Regions from separate parts of the Homo sapiens genome. Here region 1 is linked to region 2. Evidence: promoter capture Hi-C in 16 types of primary human blood cells and fetal thymus (Javierre and others, 2016). All regions are on one chromosome and are shown on one strand. The core of a region is centred on a gene start or on the middle of the fragment in contact, and the rest is flanking DNA. Distances in the headings are between cores, read along the strand shown.

Region 1 (6,264 bases), core at 374-2,873, 390 kb after region 2:
TTTGTTTCCTTCTCATAATGTGCAGGATGTCAGGAAATCAATGAATCTAACTCTTGCCTTCCTGTCCCTGTCCTGCCTCTGTAGTCTTATGCCTTCTTGTAGTGGAAGGGCCATGTTTCTGCAAACAAGTGGCCTGGATTCATATGAAGAACTGCTCCTATGTCACATGCAAGTGTTTTCTTATTTAATTCTTTTTTTTTTTTTCTTATTTAATTCTTCAGAATCTTTTGAGAGAAGTGATATGACGTCCATTCTACAGATGAGGAGATTAAGGCTCAGGGCAGTTCCTCAACATACCCAAGGTCACCTGGCTGGTAAGCAGTAGAGCCAGAATTTGAACCCAAGTCTGCAAACTTCAACACTCATCTCCTTCAGATGAGACTGCAGCTTTGCAGTAGTTCTTGAGAATGAAATATCTCTGCACCTTGGTTCCCTCTTTTGTGAAAAGAAAATGGTGATATGCTTATTTAATTTTTGCAGGTCAGTGAAGCTATCATCATTACTATTATTATTAGGGAAAGGGTCTCACCGCGCCACCCAGGCTGGAGTGCAGTGGCATGGTCACAGCTCACTGCAGCCTTGACCTCCCAGGCTCATGCGATCCTTCCTCAGAAGCATCCCAAGTAGCTGTGACTACCAGCGCACCACTATGCCTAGCTAATTTTTTCTTTTTTTTTGTAGAGATGGCATCTCATTTTCTTACTCAGCCTGGTCTCAATTTCCTGGCTTCAAGTGATTCTCTCTCCCTGGCCTCCCAAGGTGCTGGGATTACAGGCATGAGCTACTGCACCTCGCCCAGTGAAATTATTTAGATGGGTAAGTGAAGAAAGAAAAGAGTGAAGAACAATCAAAAGAACCAAAAAAATGAGTGTAGTGGAGGCAGAGATGCCCAATTCAGGGCACATAGTAAGTGCTCAATAAATACAGGTGGGCTGGATGGATGAAACTCAAAGCAAATATGACCAAAGCCTACTAAACTGATGAGTGGGAATAGCCGGAGGGAGCTTTTCCAGAACACCCAGTTCAGGAACACTCTTCACGGCTTGAAAGAAGTACAGTGTAGAATAAACAAAAGGAAGTACTGTTGTTTCCAAGGTAGTAAATTTAGAGAGCGCAAGAGTCAGTCCAGATTAAAAATATAAATCTCTGCGGAAACAAGTAAATTGTGCATGATGAATCCATAAAAAATAACCAGGGGCGACATCTCCTGCCTTTGAGGCCAAGGTCAAGTGGGCCCTCCCCTAAATACCCGTGGGCTGGGTGAGCAGGGTGCTAAATCTTGGGTTCTGAATCCAGCGTTAACTTTAGAAAGTTTTCATCTCCTCCTTCTTCAGCTCTTTGGCATATTCTTGCTCTGTGTTCTGGTTTTAGGGAGTTACCAGCTTGATAAACTACAGGAAACCCGCATGCATTTTACATCCAATTTATAGAGCCCTGACTCTTAACAGTGCCTAAATAATCCACGGTGAAGGCTGCTCAATGGGTCATGTAATCCATTTGGAGATGGTGTGCCCCACTTTGGAGACTGGCTGTGTGTCTGGCTTCCTTTTCCAAGGTTTCTCTGTTTGTGCTAGGGAAGGGACAAGGGATGTAGTTTTGGTACCCTGCTTGCCTACAATCAAAAACATTAGCTTTCTTCCCAGACAACCCACCAAGAAAGAAGGGCCCTCTTCCTGAGGCCGGGCAGCTGTTTCTTCCAAGTTTCTTCAGCCTCTGGCTCTTGTCCTAGGGCCTTGGATCTGTCCCCAAAGGCAAGGCAGGACTTGTCAGTGGCACCAGGCTCCGAATCTGACCCCACATCCTTTTGGGAAGAGCTGCAACCTTTCACTGGCTGCTCTACCTGTGTTCAGATTGACTGGAAAACTGTCGTGAACGCTGGGGGCTCTTTTTAGAGCATCCCCAACCTGTATCCCATAATCATAATCCTGATTGATTTCCCCATTTGGCTCTGTGGTGACAGCTGGCCAGTGGGGGCGACGCTTTCCTCATTTGGACTGCAGGTGTCCCTGGTGCTCTCCCAGAACCTGGACTGATGTCCTGAGCTTCTCCCTCTTGCTAATGTTGGGGCAGAGGATTTGAAGTGGCCACACCCCATCCCCATCATACCACCATCCTCTCTGCCTCCGGATGTAGCCTCTTCATCCCCTTCTTCCAGCATCTTCAGACCCTGTCCTCTGGGCCTGATGCAGCATCCCCTGTTGAACCTGCCGGGAGATGGTCTGTTCCCCGCAGACCTCCAGTCTTGAACATTCCTCTGCCATGTGCTGTACCTGATCAGCCAGGGTCCCTGCAGGAAACAGATGGCATGCTGGAACCGGGAGATTTGAGAGGGTGTTTAACACAAGGGCTTTTTACAAAGGTGTGGGAAGAGTGTAGGCTGGCCACGAAGTATAGTGAAGAACACAGGACTGGAACTGGGGAGGTCTTACCCCCACTGGGCTTAAGGAACAAGGGCAGGGGACAGTATCAGAACCAGCCCGGCAGGACTTGCAGCCAGCTTGCAGCGGTACCCCTGGGAGGGGCATGAGGAAGTAGATTTCCCGATCTTTCTTGGGCTGAACTCAACAGGAAGACAGAAGTTATGTGGGCTTGCTGTTGTGCACATGTCCAGTTTTCAGGAGCTCATGGCAGAGTGGAGGATAGAAATTCCATCTAGAGGGCAAAGCAGAAGAGATCCAGCACAGCGTGCACATCAAACCGTGTACACTAGCCGGGCACGGTGTCTCACACCTGTAATCCCAGCACTTTGAGAGGCTGAGGCAGGAGGGTCGCTTGAGCCCAGGAATTTGAGACCAGCCTGGGAAACATAGTGAGACCCTGTCTTTACAAAAAATAAGCAAAATTTAGCCAGGTGTGGTGATATGCACTTGTAGTCTCAGTTACTCAGGAGGCTGAGGCAGGAGGATCTCTTGAGCCCAAGAAGTCAAGGCTGCGGTGAGCTGTGATTGTGCCACTGCACTCCAGCCTGAGCAACAAAGTGAGACCCTGTCTCTAAATAAAAATAAATAATAATTTTTAAAAAGGCTTACATTGTGTTTTCAGAGGAGATTTCCACAGGCCTTTCCTATTGTAGGCAACTCATCTCCCCTCCACTAATGAGAGAGGCTGTGGGCAGTGCTGTGGTTTGGATGTTTGTGTCATTTGGATGTTTGTCCCCTCACACTTCTGTTGAAATTTAATCCCCATGTTGAAGGTGGGGCCTAGTGCAAAGCATTTGGGTCAGGGGGCAGATCACTGATGAATAGATTAATCCCCTTCCTGGGGGATGAGTGCATTTTCATTCTAGTTCCTGCAAGAGCTGGTTGTTAGGAAGAGCTGGGCCCCCTCTCCTCTCCTGCTTCCTCTCTTGCCCTGTGATCTCTGCATGTGCCAGCTCCCCTTCCCCTTCCATCAGGAGTGTAAGAAGCCTAAGGCCCTCCCCAGATGCCCAGTCTTCCAGCCAGCATCATCATGAGCAAATAAACCTTCTTCCTTTATAAATTACCCAACTTCAGGTATTTCTTTATAGCAACACAAAGGAATAAAGAAAGCCTGCCCCGTGCGGCTCTCACTCCCCAGGGTTTGGGATAGCAGGATGTAAGTTCTGGTTGGTTCCATTGGTTGAAACAGCAATTTGAAACCAGGAAAGAGTCCTGAGTCCTTTCAGACTGAAAACCTACCTGTGTAAAACCTGAACTGGCTCAAGCAAGGCCATCTCAAAAGCATGCTCAGCATTAATCACAGGGCTCTCAGGATATTGTTAAGACAAAAATTTGAAATTTACTTCCAGTGATTTCAGAAGAGGAAAAAGAGATGGTGCCCCTTGCCCTGTCCTGTGCTGTCCCACTCCCCCCATGCACAGACACACCGAGCTCAGGTGCCCAGGTCAAGCTTTCCTGCCACTCTGCACAGGGAACAGAGCGGGTGGCAGCACATCCTGGTTAGTGTCTCCAAGATTCGCGATGTTGGGAGGGTGTGCAACCACCGGATAGAAGCCAGAAATAAGTGTCTGAATGTGACAAAGAGCATGTGTGTGTGTGTGTGTGTGTGAGAGAGAGAGAGAGAGAGAGAGAAAGAAAGAAAACTAGGCAGGAGTTTTAGGCAGGGGAGAAGCAGGGAACACATGGAATCACATCCTCCTTGTGGTCAGGGAGAGCAACCCATTGTTCGTGGAGTGCCTGCTATGGACTTGGCCTGGTAACAGCCTCCCAGAGGTCATGTGATTTCACATTTATTGCACAACAAACCCATGAGGCATGCAGTGTTACCGAGTTTGAAATAAGAAGACTGGGGGAATCAGGGAAGTTATGTCATTTGTTCAGTGTTAAACAGCAAACACATGGAAAAGTGTGGGTTCAGACCCTGCTCTCCTGACTCTACAAAGTCATTTACACTAGAGTTAATTTCACTCGGTCTGAGGAGAACACTATTCCGTTCTGTATTCTTTTCTGTTTGGTTCCTCTACTGATGCATGTGCATGCATGCACATGTGTGTGTGTGTGTGTGTGTGTCTGTGTGTCTGTGTGTGTGTATGTGTGTGTGTGTCTGTGTGTGTGTTGGGTGCACAGGGTGAGAAAAAAAGAGGAGAAGAAAGTAAGCATGTTATTCCTAATTATTTGCTTGTCCTGACCATAAATGCTTGGCTAGAATTCGGAAAGAAACTTTTAATAATATATGTTGTAAGAGAGAGGTGGGGTCTCACACATGTTGTGTACCTGGCTTTATACACAGCATCACTGGCATGGATGAATCCCTGGTGGCCTTCTGAGTTTTCTGAAAACTTTCATAGATCAATACCAGGTTGATTTTCACTTAGAACTCCTGACTTCAAGTGATCTGCCCACCTTGGCCTCCCAAAGTGCTAGGATTTTAACTTAGAAGAGGTAGAAAATGGGCACAGCTGAGGCAGGAAGGGATCCAGGTGGAATAAGGAGTATCTCTGCAGATGGCAAGATCTGGGAAATCCAAGATGCACAGCCTCTAAAGCAGGGGCTCCTGCACACTCCTCTGGCTGTCCCTCCTCTGTATGTCCAGGAGGTCAGTGCAGGGTGGGTAGCAGTCAAAGAAAAGCCCCTACTGGGAGAAGACTGGATGGGGCAGAGTGGAAAGTGCTCTGGACTGAAAGCCAGACTTGATTTGATCCTCCCAGCTCTGACACCACCACAAAGTCCTGAACCGTGGCCCTGAGAAGCTCTGTGGGTCTCAATTTTCTTCATGCTAAAATAAAAAGGGTTGTCTAATCAGGGATCAGCACACTATGGTCTTGGGGCCAAATCCAACACCTCACCCTGTTTTTGTAAATAAAGTTTGATTGGAGCACAGCCATGCTCAATGTTTTACATCTTATCTGCGGCTACTTTTTATACTACGATGGCAGAGTTGGTTCTCCCAGCAGAGGACAGACGATCCATGAAACTTAAAATATTTACTCTCTGGCCCTTTGCAGAAAATCTTTGCAGACCTCTGGCCTAGATGATTTCTAGGGCCCTCCTGGTTGTGGGATCTGAAATCAGGCATTATGCCTTATCAGGCTTCGCATTTCCCACACTCCAGGAGAGTGGCAAGAGGAAAGTCTGTAGATGCCCTTAGACCTAACTTGGAGGCTGCCTTGCAGACAGTTTCCACATATCCCAGCTTCCCTCGTGGCCCCTCTGTTTTGGGACGTCACAGCTAAGGAACCACAGCAGCCCTCCAGTGATACAGGAGAGAAGCTGGCAAGTAACTGACCCCGCTGCCTTGCTCTCCATGGGACAAATCTGAGATTTGCCCAGTTGGATAAAGCCCCACTGGTCCACCCAGAAAACTGCCCATTAGCTCCACCTTGGGGACTTACTTCCCTTCCCTGTCTCCCTTCCCCATTCCCTCCTCTGCTTCCTGAGTTCACCTCCCCATCAATTTGTCTCTGAGGCTGCTCTGGGGAAACCCTAGTGAAGCAATGACATGCGGCTAATAAGCACATGTTGTGCTTGTCAATAATCATTTGCCTGTGTTACTAACCATATTCTGCTACAACAAACAATGTAGGAAAATGTAGCAAATTAAAAAAAAAACTTGCAACAAAGATAAAGGCATATGGTTCTAGGAGATGGGACTGAATTATAATTTTTGCTTGGTCAACTTGGGTAACATATGGACCTCAGTGCCTTTGTCTGTAAAATTAGAGGGCCAGATTGCCTAAGTCCCTAGATACCTACTGGTTCCAAAATGCTATAAAATTGGATCAAGGGTGTCTTGCTAATCTGTTGGCAATAAGTAAAAGCAGATATATATTCACAATATTAATCA
Region 2 (6,686 bases), core at 2,437-4,936:
CCTTCATCTTTACTAGACAATAACAAATTATTTTCCAAAGCGATTATACCTATTTATATCCCACGGCAGTATATAAGTGTGCAAATTGCTCTTCATTTTTTTTTTTTTTTTTTTGAGATGGAGTCTTGCTCTGTTGCCCAGGCTGGAGTGCAGTGGCATGATCTCGGCTCTCTGCAATCTCCACCTCCTGGGTTCAAGAGATTCTCCTGCCTCAACCTCCTGAGTAGCTGGGATTACAGGCATGCCAACAAGCCTGGCTAATTTTTGTATTTTTGGTAGAGACGGGGTTTCGCCATGTTGGCCAGGATGGTCTTGAACTCCTGACTTCAGGTGATCCGCCCCTCTCGGTCTCCCAAAGTGCTGGGATTACAGGTGTGAGCCACCGCACCCGGCCTGCCCTATATTCTTAATTTTCTCTTTTTGGGATAAGATCTCGCTATGATCCTCAGGATGGTCTCAAACTCCTGGGTTCAAATGAACCTCCCACTTGGGCTTCCTGAGTTGCTAGAACTACAGGCATGAGCCACTGCGCTCAGCTGCTCTACATTCTTGCCATACTTTATATTGCTCACGTTTTTCAGTTCTTCCAATCTGATAGATATGAGATGATATCTCATGATTTTCATTTTCCTGATTACTAAAAAGGTTGAACATCTTTTTCATATGCTTATTGGTCATCCTGTTTTCTTCTTCTCTGAGGTATCAGTCTGTACTGGGCAGTATGAAAGAGCTGTTTATGTACTGTGGATAATCATCTTGTGTCAGCTACATATTAGTATTTTGCAAATATCTTCTCCCAGCCTGGTGGCCTGTCTTTTCACTCTAATCCAGAAGTACAAACAGGCTGGGCACAGAGGCTCATGCCTGTAATCCCAGCACTTTGGGAGGCTAAGGCAGGCAGATCACAAGGTCAGGAGTTCAAGACCAGCCTGGCCAACACAGCGAAACCCAATATGGTGAAACCCCATCTCTACTAAAAATACAAAAAGTAGCCAGGCGTGGTGGTGCACACCTGTAGGCCCAGCTACTCAGGAGGCTGATGCAGGAGAATCGCTTGAACCTGGGAGGTGGAGGCTGCAAGTGAACCAAGATCACACCACTGCACTCCAGGAATGTATCCCTTTTTTCCTTTATGCTATGTGCCTTTTGATTTTTGTTTAATGAACCCTTTCCTAACGAACCAGGAATTCTTAATGCTGTTCCACAAACTAGGTCTGTGGGTGGATTTCAGGGGATCTCTGATCCCCTGGAAGTCATATGCAAAATTCTGCATGGGTGCATGTGTGCGTTATTGTGGGATGAAAGACCACAGTTTCTACCAGTTTCTCAAAAAGGTCTGTGATATAAAAACAGATTAAGAATCACTGCTAAATAGTAAGGATTATCATGTAAGGTATAATTTAAAAATCATTTTAGTTCCGTTTTGTCATTCGTGATATCATGTATGGCAGGGAAGAATGAAGAATACTAAAGTAGCAAACATGAGAGAGCTCTGGAAAGGGGCAGTTAGAGCAAGAGGATAAGGATACTTACTATGAACAGCTCACATCTAGTGAGTGCTTATCATGTGTCAGATAGCATGCTGAGTGCTTTACACAATTACCACATTTAATCAAAAACTCCAGGACATAGACACTATTATCATCTCAATTTTATTTTATTATTTTTTTGAGACGGAGTTTCACTCTTGTTGCCCAGGCTGGAGTGCAATGGTGGGTAGGATCTTGGCTCACCACAACCTCTGCCTCCCAGGTTCAGGTGATCCTCCGGCCTTAGCCTCCCGAGTAGCTGGGATTACAGGCATGCGCCACCACATCCGGCTAATTTTTGTTTTTTAGTAGAGACGGGATTTTACCATGTTGGTAAGGCTGGTCTCGAACTCCTGGACCTCAGGTGATCCGCCCACCTCAGCCTCCCAAAGTGCTGGCATTACAGGCTTGAGCCACCGTGCCCGGCCCTATTGTCTCAATTTTATAGGCAAGCAACGGCTTGAGACAAACTCCCTAACTTGCTCAAGATCACATAACAGAGGAGTGTCACAGACAGATTTAAATCCAGATAGTCTGAACTCCTGTTACCAGAGCATCATGAGATATAAGTGTAAAGAACACAGTTACTGGCACATGGGAAATATGCAGTAAGTCATAGCTATTACAACTTAAAGGAGAAATATTTCAGAAAGGATTTTAGATAAGCAGTGGACATATGGAGAGCAGACGACTCAAGAAAAAACATGTGAGAAAAAGGAAAAATATGACCAGTTTTCCCTTACAGGCATTTCAGCATTTTCTTGCTAAACAGGCATTCTCCAGGGAAACAGCAGATGTTCAAGGGACTAAGGTAAAGAAGTTCAGGGACCTCTACAGTCCCTGAAAATATCACGTGGATCCTTGCTCTGTGAACTGTTCACTGAATGTGCCCAAAGCTGTCCCTTACTGACCCCACTTGGGGATGCTGTGTTTGATATGATGAGGTCTCTAACAGAGGATGTCCTTCTTGCTTCCCGTTTCCATGTAGATGGTAAGATCCAGTCCCTGTTCTAAAGTAAGCCCCAAATTCCGTTTCCTCATCTTGTGATCCCTGATATTCACAGTTGAACTAAATAAAAAGGCTGACTGGAGCAAAGGGATTCGATCTGGGATGCTTACCTGCTCCAATCTTTCAATGAGCTCTGCAGGAGTTAGGACCACTTCCTCACTACCCCCATCAGAGTCCTGTCCCAGGAAATCCACTTCTTCGGTCATCTTCTCTGAAACCAGGAACCTAATGAGAGGGAAAGAACCAATACTCTGCAATGCGTTTTCTAATTATCTGCAAGAACAGACATCTATCTGGAGAAAGGAAAGGTTTATTGAGGTTTCCTGGGGTTGTAGAGGCCCTTTAGCAAGTGGTGAGAGAACGCAGGGACTCTAGTTTTCCAGTGTCTGCCTCTTCCTCCAAGGCTTAGGTCAGGTATCCGTTTCTCAAACAAGCCTCCCCCTTACTTCTGTCCACCAAGAGCTGAGCACCCATCACACCATACAATCACTATTCATTTCTTTGACTTCCCAGTAGAGGTCTTGTTCCTCAGGGACGGGGTTCGTTTTAGTTCAAATACGAATCGCGCCTCTGCTCAGTGCCTGGCACTAAGCACTGGGGACGCAATGACGTGGGAAGCCCCTGCGCTCAGCACAGCGCTTGACTCCTAGCAAGCACTTAACATTATTAGGAGCTGGCCGGGCTCACGCCTGTAATCCCAGCACTTTGGGAAGCCGAGGCAGGAAGATACCTTGAGCCCAGGAGTTCGAGACCAGCCTGGGCAACATAGGGAGATCCTGTCTCTATAAAAACAAAAATTGTTAGGAAGATTAATCAATGCTAATTTCCCAGAGCCACAAGGGCCGGCGACATTAGACCAGTCGGCGATCCCAAAGGCCTAAGGAGGTGGATGGCGGGGACAAAGAAAGTCCCTGGGGTCGCAAGGAAACTGCGAACATCCCCCTCCCCTCCTCCCTCTCAGTGCCACCCACACAGGCCTGCCCTAGCCACAGAGGTCCCATTCGACGCTCACTCGGGGACCTGGGAGACAGCGAGGCACTCCACAGCAGCCGGCGGTAAGGACGGGGCGTTCGTGGGGACGCAGTCGGGGCACCAGGAAGCGGGAAGACAGAGGAACAAACTGCTCAAGGACTTGCCGGGACCAACTCAACCCTGCAACTTCTCAGCTCCCGCGCTACTCTCGCAAAGTTTCCGCCCAGGCACGACGTCATCGCGCAAGGGCGACGCTGACCAATCAAGGCCCGGGGGGAAGAGCGGGGCGGTCTCCTTGGGCCCGCCCACCCGGCGGGCGGGGACTGTCTTCGCGGCGGCCTGCAGTCCCAGCAACCCAAGGACTTGAGGCGGCGGGAGGCTGGTCCGGGTTGGCCCCGCCCACCTGGGGGCCGGCCGCTCCGCTGTGCGGTCCGGGTTGCACTACCCAAGAGCGTCGGGAGGGGGCGCCCGCCACCGCGGCCAAGGGGAGCGGCGGTGTCCGCCCCGGGGGGTCCCACCCAGAAGTATGCTGTTGAAAGCAGGCCGCTGCAGCCTCCTGGGCCGTCTCCACCCACAGCTCTCGTGGCTCTTTGGGTTCCTCCGTCTTTGCGGGGTTTCACCTGTGGTCAGTGTGGTCATTGCCTTCAGAATCTCCAGTATATTCCTTTTCATCTTTCTTGAGACAGGGTCTCGTTCTGGTGCCCAGGCTGGAGTGCAGTGGCACCACCACAGCTCACTGCAACCTCCGCCTCCCGGGCTCCAGCGATCCTCCCACCTCAGCCTCCGGAGTAGCTGGGACCACAGGCCAGCGCCACCACGCCCAGTTATTTTTTAATTAAAAAAAAAAAAAAAAAGAACTGTGGCGGGGTTGGGGGTGGGGAGGTTCTCCCTATGATGGCCAGGCTGGTCTCGAACTCAAGGATCCAAGCAATCCTCCCACCTCGGCCTCACAAAGTGGGTACTGGTTCTTGAAGCCTGGGATCGGACGACCAGCAGAAGCATCGCCTGGGAATCCGTGAAAATGCAGGTTCTCAGGCCCCACCCTGGCCCACCGAATCAGAAACTGGGGGTATTTCACCAGACCCAGGCCCTCCCGGTGACCCTGACACAGCTGAGGTTTGAGAATCACTGCTTTGGGGCCGGGCGCGGTGGCTCACGCCTGTAATCCCAGCACTTTGGGAGGCCGAGGTGGGCGGATCACGAGGTCAGGAGATCGAGACCATCCTGGCTAACATGGTGAAACCCCGTCTCTACTAAAAATACAAAAAAATTAGCCGGGCGTGGTGGCGGGCGCCTGTAGTCCCAGCTACTCGGGAGGCTGAGGCGGGAGAATGGCGTGAACCCGGGAGGCGGAGCCTGCAGTGAGCCAAGATGGCGTCACTGCACTCCAGCCTGGGAGACAGAGCCAGACTCCATCTCAAAAAAAAGAAAAAAAAAGAAAAAAGAAAAGAGAATCACTGCTTTGGGGCAATGCTTTCAACTCACCTTCTGGAGGGGAAAAGCACAAAAACCCATGTCTGTATATGTATATATTTTTTCCATCTTTGTGTGATCCAGTTTTTCTTCTCTGAGTTGCTGATTCTTTTCTCTTTGCTGTCCTTTGTTTTCTGTGCAAAGCGTTGCTTCTGGCTTCCCTAAAAGTATCTCTTCTCCATCAATCTGAGGGCTCTTTGCAAAGCTGCCCTATGATGTCATATTGATTGACTAGTAAAATGATTGGCTAATATAGTATGATCGTACCTGCCTGATTACAATCCTGTTATGAAAATGACAATAGAATAAGCCGAGTGAGAGAGTAGGCATCTTTACAAAGCGCTGTGTAAGCTGGGGCATATCAGCACGGGATTCCCAAAAGGAAGGGACATTTGAGCTGTGTCTTATGAAATGAATTTTGTGAGTGGCAAATAGGTGGTTATTTCAAGGTCTGTTTCAACGGTTTGGTAATCCAGTGGTTTTTGGTTGTGGCAGAGTGTGTTTCCCAAACATAGCTGCTCTAATATGGATCTCACCCCACATACCCTTCTTACCATGTGACATTGACACTCCTCCATCAAGAGGTGGGGTCTATGTTCTCACCTTCTATTTATTTATTTAGAGACAGGGCCTCACTCTGTCGCGCAGCCTGGAGTGCAGTGGGGCGGTCACGGCTCATTGCACCCTTGACCTTCCTGGGCTCAGGTGATCCTCCCACTTCAGCCCCCATGAGTAGCTGGGACTACAGGTGTGTACCATGCCTGGCTAATTTTTTGTATTTTTGGTAGAGGTGGGGTTTCATCATGTTGCTCAGGCTGGTCTTGAACTCGGGCTCAAGTGATCTGCTCACCTCAGCCTCCCAAAGTGCTGGGATTACAGGTGTGAGCCACAGCGCCTGGCCCTGTTCTTGCCTTTTACATCAGGAAAGAGTTTTTTAACTGCTTTGACCAAGAGAATTTGGCAGAAGTGATGCTGCTTGGCTTCTGGGACTAAGTCATAAAAGGCAATGTGGCTTCCACTTGGCTCTTTTTTCTGGAGCCCCATCTCTTGAGAGCTGTGGGCTGACGTGGAAGAAGTCTGGCTAGCCTGCAGTCGATGTGCAAGAGAGTCGATATGAAGATGCCAGGCAGAGATGGGGAGCCTTACTGGAGGAACCCCAGAACCCCAGTTGTTCCATTCTCCAGATGTCTGGGTTGAATGAGCCTTCAGGTGATTCTAGTGCTGAGGCTTCAAACCGTCCCAGCTAAGATGAAGGGAGCAGAGATGAGCTTCTCTGCTGAGCCCTGCCCAAATCGCAGATTTGTGAGCAAAATAAGTATTGTTGTTGTTTTAGGCCCTAAGTTTTGGAGTGGTTTGTTATGTAGCATTAGCTGACTGGAACAGTGGTCTTTGAGCACAATCGCATTCTTCCATAATTCTCATTACCAAATAGCTTTTCAATGATGTTTATTAATATTCCTTAATTGTTACATATTTGAGTCCAAGCATAGATAACGTCTCTACACAAGTGCCGATTATGTAGTTTATTGATTTAAAAACTTCCCTTCTCTGGGTCCAACCACCTTCTCCAATCTCCCCCGCTCCTCCACTGGAGAGCTAGAGCCCAGCTTCTGCTTCCTTACTTAATAGAGGTGTGACCTTAAACGAGTCACTTTGGATTTCAGTTGCACCACCTTTTTTGCTGTTGTTGTTAGATGACGTTT

The links. The method cuts DNA at HindIII sites, captures the fragments that hold promoters and counts their contacts. A CHiCAGO score of 5 or more calls a contact.
Region 1: a contact is called between a fragment that was not itself captured here and the fragment with the promoter of GINS4 in region 2, in 1 of 17 cell types (endothelial precursors). The highest score is 5.9, in endothelial precursors.

What each region holds. Positions count from the first base shown.
Region 1 is chr8:41,137,902-41,144,165 of GRCh38, reverse strand. No RefSeq gene overlaps it. Among named protein-coding and RNA genes, the nearest start is that of MIR548AO, 130 kb to the left of the region's middle. The HindIII fragment of the contact is 4,498 bases long and covers 1-3,872 here.
Region 2 is chr8:41,526,261-41,532,946 of GRCh38, reverse strand. It overlaps GINS4 (GINS complex subunit 4), which reads right to left and starts at 3,686. Exons shown (of 8, transcript NM_032336.3): 1 at 3,551-3,686; 2 at 2,649-2,763. The coding sequence starts at 2,744. RefSeq lists a silencer at 3,711-4,140. The HindIII fragment of the contact is 13,395 bases long and covers 1-6,686 here.